Regions from separate parts of the Homo sapiens genome. Here region 1 is linked to region 2. The links are contacts of gene promoters, found by promoter capture Hi-C in blood cells and fetal thymus (Javierre and others, 2016). All regions are on one chromosome and are shown on one strand. The core of a region is centred on a gene start or on the middle of the fragment in contact, and the rest is flanking DNA. Distances in the headings are between cores, read along the strand shown. Region 1 has its middle 6.3 kb from the start of ZNF22. Region 2 holds the start of TMEM72 (transmembrane protein 72).

Region 1 (2,700 bases), core at 102-2,601, 96 kb after region 2:
CTATGCGCTTTGAGCATGGGGATGCATTACTCTCTTCACTGTGTTGGGGTATGTGGAGAGGAGCACAGATGAGGGATGTTTTTGGTTAATACAGCTCTGGACCAGTGGGAGATAGATGGAGCCAGCCTTGATCTAGAGATGTCCCAGGGTTTTCAGAGTGTAGTGACTATGGGATTTGGGGTTGTCTTCCTTGGGTAGAAGGTATGTTGTGTGTGGAAGGAGGAAAGAGGGATATTTGGTGAGCAAATACCCAAATACCCCACGTTTCCTGGCACCCTTACAGTGCTGTGAGAAACAACACTAGGTCTGCCCATTTGAGTTAGTGATGTTTTTAAAAGCTGTTGGGTGATTCTCTGTGCTCCTATTTCCCAGGCCAAAGTGGAGCTGACATTTAGGTAGTTCCTGAGTCTCTTGCCAACCTGCTTTAGGTATCCCATGAGTGAGAAATAAACTGTTGAGATAGGCCACAGATTTCAGTGTAGATTTGGTACCTGTCCTGATTGATGCACCCATCCTGCTTTTTTTGTGCATCTCTGGAGCCAATCATCAGTCTTAAAAGTTCTATCCTTTTAGTGGCCTGATGAGAAAAAACAGCTTTTTGAGTTCATATTGAGAAACACTGCCTCGCCTCCCCCACATTGTCTTTCTGTTTCTAGCCGATACTCTGTAATACTTCCATACTTCCATACTTCCTTTTTTTTTTTTTTTTTTTTTTTTTTTTTTGTCCTGGGACCCTTCTCTTTGTTCCTTACTGAGACTTAAAGGCAGCATTAAAGCTTGTTTGTGTGTTTTATTTGTATCCCATGACTCTCTGGCCTGGGTTGAAAGTCCCCACACACAGAGTTGCTAGAATGTCCTGTGATATCAGCCCTGGAAGTTGAAAATCTGTCCTGAGACTGATATGTGTCTTCAAACATGGGAGAAAGGGGTGACTGTCCCTCCACCATGCAGAGTCTGAGTGTGACAGGACCCATGAGAGGATGCTGAGTGGGTGCCAGGAGGACTCACCTCCAAGAGCAAGAGCCTGGTCCCTGTTGCACATTGATTTCAAACAGACCAACCAGCTTGGACAATTGAACTTCCCAATTGCAGTCATGATGAACTGAAGACCAGAGGACCTTCCTCCAATTTCCTGGTCCACATGAAGCGCTAGATTGTAATGTAACCCTAGATATGTTGAGGGGACTCCAAAGTAGGATTTCTCACCACACTGGTAAAATAGGGGGACTGCCTATTTTAGTCTCATTTAGGGATAAGTATAATGGCTGTTTCCTAAATTCAGAGTTCTGTAGTAAACTGATAACTAAGAGATTCTTTTCTGTCATTTTTCAAATAAAGCATTGTGACATCTGGTGAAAGAATTACTTTTTTCTTGTTTTATTGTTCAGAAGAGGTGCAAATTAATCCAGAACAGTTTGAAATGGATAAATTTTACTGCTGAGTGATGGAAAGAGACAAAAATGACAGAAACATAATTCATAGCTGCATTCCTTACAGTAAATCCAAGCACAAATAGCTCTATTGCTTAGAATCATTGCATTTAAATATAGAAAGAACAAATCTTTCATAGTCTTTTTATGGATGATAATTTTTTTCCTTTGATCCACATGGTTGGTAATGTATCAGAATAGATTGAGCAACTTAGTCCTACTAAGTAATGGCATTTTATAATTCTGGTGTTATAATATCTGACAGTATTTTATTTAGAACTTTTACGTCAATATACATCAACTGACATAGTTGTAAGTTTCTTTGTATGTTATCTTTGTCATAAATGTCGATTACGTCGTAGAGCATTTCAGGAACTGTGCCAAGTTCATAACACCAGGTTACTAATGTGTTATGCTACCTCCCAATTTGTCAAGAGACATCTCAGGCACAGATTTTTTGAATTCAGGAATTCAGGATGGGTATGCCAATTTAAATGAAGCTTCTGAGATGAGTAACCTTAAATCCCAGAGAGAACCTGGTTATATCTCTATGTTCAGGGCAATCTAAATGGGTCCCCTAGGATACAAGAAGCCTCTCTATTCAGTGGGATTAAAAGGCTAAATATCAGAATTTAAGCAGGTGAGTCAAAGAGGGGACAATATGATGATTCAGGGGCAAACAGTCATGAAGAGAAGTTCAGGTTCAGTGAGAAAACTGAGTCCATTCTGTGTATTCCACATAGTTTAATATAGCTAGTTAGACTTTCTGTTATGTCCATGTTTCTTCTTTGCCTGATAAGTTCACCACTTCAGTTTAACCCAGCATCTGTATTCCATTTTCTCTATTAGAATAATTGGTCTGGTTTCTCTTTTTGTGGCTAGACTTTGGCTGAAAGGACAATAATAAGAGAAATAAAACTACAAGGAGCTACTATTTCTTATGTATCAAAAGTGTAAAACCTACTCTGTTGGTAAGGCTGTGGAGAACCAGCCAAACTAAGGCTGATGGTGGGATACAAAATGTTACAACCCATACTGAGGAGGGATTTGGCAATATCTAGCAGAAGTATATATGCATTTACTCTCTGATCCAGAAATTATATTTCCAGAGTTTGTTTCCAAAGATACAGTACCAACAATATGAAACAACGTATACACATGGCTGCACATTTTTATAGAAAAAACTCATTTCCCACTAAGGCATCTGGCTCCAATGTAGTGTCATGTATTTGTTCAATAATAGGCTTTTTATGATGCTCTCATGACCTTT
Region 2 (2,700 bases), core at 166-2,665:
CTGCACTCCATCCTGGGCAACAGACAAGACCTTGTCTCAAAAAAAAAAAAAAAAAGAAAAGAGGAAAGAAAGGAAGGGGAAGGGGAAGGAGAAGGGGAGGGAGGGGAGGGGAAGGGAGGGGAGGGAAGGGCCAAACTAATTGTTCTTGAGTTTTCCGTTATTATTGGCAGACCTTGGCTTTCCATGGTTCAACTTAGGATGGTGTGAAAATGATGTACATTCAGTAGAAATTGTACTTTAAATTTTGGATTTTGATGTTTTCCTGGGCTAGCAACATGCCCTACAATATATTCTTACATGAGCTACTCCACACTTTATAACATAAACCTTGTGTTAGATGATTTTGCCCAACCATAAACTAAGTGTTCTGAGCACATTTAAGTAGGCCAGGCTAAGCTCTGATGTTCAGTAGGTTGGTTGGATTAAGTGCATTTTTAACTTAAAATATTTTCAATGTCTGATGGGTTTTTTGGGACATAACCCCATCATAAGTTGAGGAGCATGTGTATTGGGTTTGCTTGGAGTTTTTTTCCTTATTTGGTTGTTTTGTTTTCTATCTTATATGAGCAAAGGGGTAAAAGATTTCAGAAAAACACCTGAGAGATAAATCTTAATACCATTCAATCTAGCACATCCGTTAGTAAATTAAGAATGAGGGAAAGCCCACCACTGTCCAAGTGTAAAGGCTGGGCTCCTTGAAACAGCTACAGGGACACTCCAAGTACATCAAAAACACCAATTCAGCCAAAACTTCACATTTATTTTCTGCAAAAGTTACCAAGGCTCACAGATGCCTTTGGGTTTCCCCAAGGTCACCCGGTTAATTATTGACATAGCAACTCCCCTCGCAAAACAAAGAATCAAAATGATTTCCCACGTCCCATGTTGGGATGCATGTTAATGAGGAAGGAAGGCCTCTGCGTGGCGGGGCCTGAGCTAAGTATGTCTAGTCAGAGTCCAAATCCGGGACAGATTTGAAAAGCTTTCTAATCCACCTATACGCAGAAGAATAAAGCTTGGAACTCATTTCAAAAGTTGTTTCTACTGGTGATTTAAAGACACACTCCTCTCTCCCATATGCACATAAGCACAGACCTGCAAGAGCACTGTCCCCTCCAGAGCCAGACACTACAGGCCCCCAGCAAGTGTGAAATCCAGGTGTGACTTTCTAGGCATGGCTTGGTGAGGAAGGGCCTGGCCCACTCCTTGGCTCCCTCCTCCCAGCCAGAAACGGTTAATTGCCAGCTCCAGACTGCCTCCAGCCCAGCCCTAATCGCCGATCTCAGGCGGCTGGGCTGCGCTGGGGCTGAGCGGCTCCAGCCCAGGCTGGGGTTGTGTGAGCAGCAGGAGCATTCTTCCAAGGTAATGATTAAGCTGAGTGCCTGGCAAGGGCACGGGCTGAGAGCACAGAAGGTGAGCCCTATTCACACCTCGGCCAGGCTGCGGTGGCCAGGACTGGTTTGGGAAGGCAGGGCCCCGGTGTGCAGCCACAGCCAGCAGCCTCCTACCTACACAAGGGTGTTCGGGAGCATCTCAGGGCCGAAGACTTTGCTGCCTGCCCTGCCAGGACTTTGTCCTCACCCCTGGCACCATGCAGCTCCAGGTGTTCTGGACTGGGCTGGAATACACCTGCCGGCTCCTGGGCATCACCACTGCTGCAGGTAAGACCCTGCCTCCTGGCTGCTGATCCTTGCACACTGGCACCACAGATAGGGCTGCCTGAGGGGTGGGAGGTGGCCAGGAGACAGCAGGCACATCTGGCCACTTCTGTGCTTCAATTTTTTTCCCAAGACCCCTAGAAACACTGCTCTGTAGAGCAGCAGCAAGTGCAGTGGGGTGAGCCTAGGGCTGGGGACCAGAGGGCTGGGTGCTGGATCTTTGCTTGGCAAGTCACCCTCCCTGTGACCTTGGGAAGCCTCAAGATCCTCATCTGCAAAATGATTCCAGGGGCCACCCCACCTACGCAGAGAGTTGTCATGAGATGGAGGTGGAGACAGAAGGTGAAGATAGAAAGGGCTGGGCTTCGCTGTGTATCTACAAAAGGTCAACTGAGCTCATCCTGCTTTACTCAAACCATAGCCCTACCTCATGGAGAGAGAACTCCCAGTCATGAGCAGCTCTGCCCTGGAGGGACAGGCTGAGCCTGGCTGGACGTGGAGATCACAGGCTTCCCTCGGGCCCATGCTGGACCCTGTTAACAGAACACCCTGTAGGAACCCAGACCCCTGTCTGAGGTCTGACTGCAGGAATGCACTGTGGTCTTAGCAGCAGAGATGCTTCCCAGAGATGCTGGGCTCCTTCCTTCACCCAGCAGAATCACAGGGCTGCTCAACTGGACAGGAGGGCAGACTGTTAGAGCAGAGCCCAGAGCCACCATCCTGAGCCCTGCCTGCTCGCTTCCCCAGGGCAGGCCTGACCCTTAGCCCCATTCCCCCTACAGAGCCAGGATCTGTTTTGGGGAAATGAACAGGCAGAATTCTGAGCCCTTAACTCTGAGCCACATTGTCCCTTGGGGACAAAGAGAGACACACCCCCTATCAAAGCCCTTCCCCACCACTGGGCAAAAGCTTACCCACGGGTCTTACCAAATGGGAAAGTTCTCCTAGGTCAAAATCACATAGTGCTTGTTCCTGCCCCAGCCTAGTCACTTGCGTGATATATGACCTTGGGGAGCCCCTGACCCCTCTGAGGCTGCACTTT

What was found. The method cuts DNA at HindIII sites, captures the fragments that hold promoters and counts their contacts. A CHiCAGO score of 5 or more calls a contact.
Region 1: a fragment that was not itself captured here is called in contact with the fragment with the promoter of TMEM72 in region 2 in 1 of 17 cell types (neutrophils); the score reaches 6.1 in neutrophils.

What each region holds. Positions count from the first base shown.
Region 1 is chr10:45,005,852-45,008,551 of GRCh38, forward strand. No RefSeq gene overlaps it. Among named protein-coding and RNA genes, the nearest start is that of ZNF22, 6.3 kb to the left of the region's middle. The HindIII fragment of the contact is 1,154 bases long and covers 775-1,928 here.
Region 2 is chr10:44,909,922-44,912,621 of GRCh38, forward strand. It overlaps TMEM72 (transmembrane protein 72), which reads left to right and starts at 1,416. Exons shown (of 5, transcript NM_001123376.3): 1 at 1,416-1,661. The coding sequence starts at 1,592. The region is part of intron 2 of TMEM72-AS1 (TMEM72 antisense RNA 1); the gene reads right to left. The HindIII fragment of the contact is 1,552 bases long and covers 1,014-2,565 here.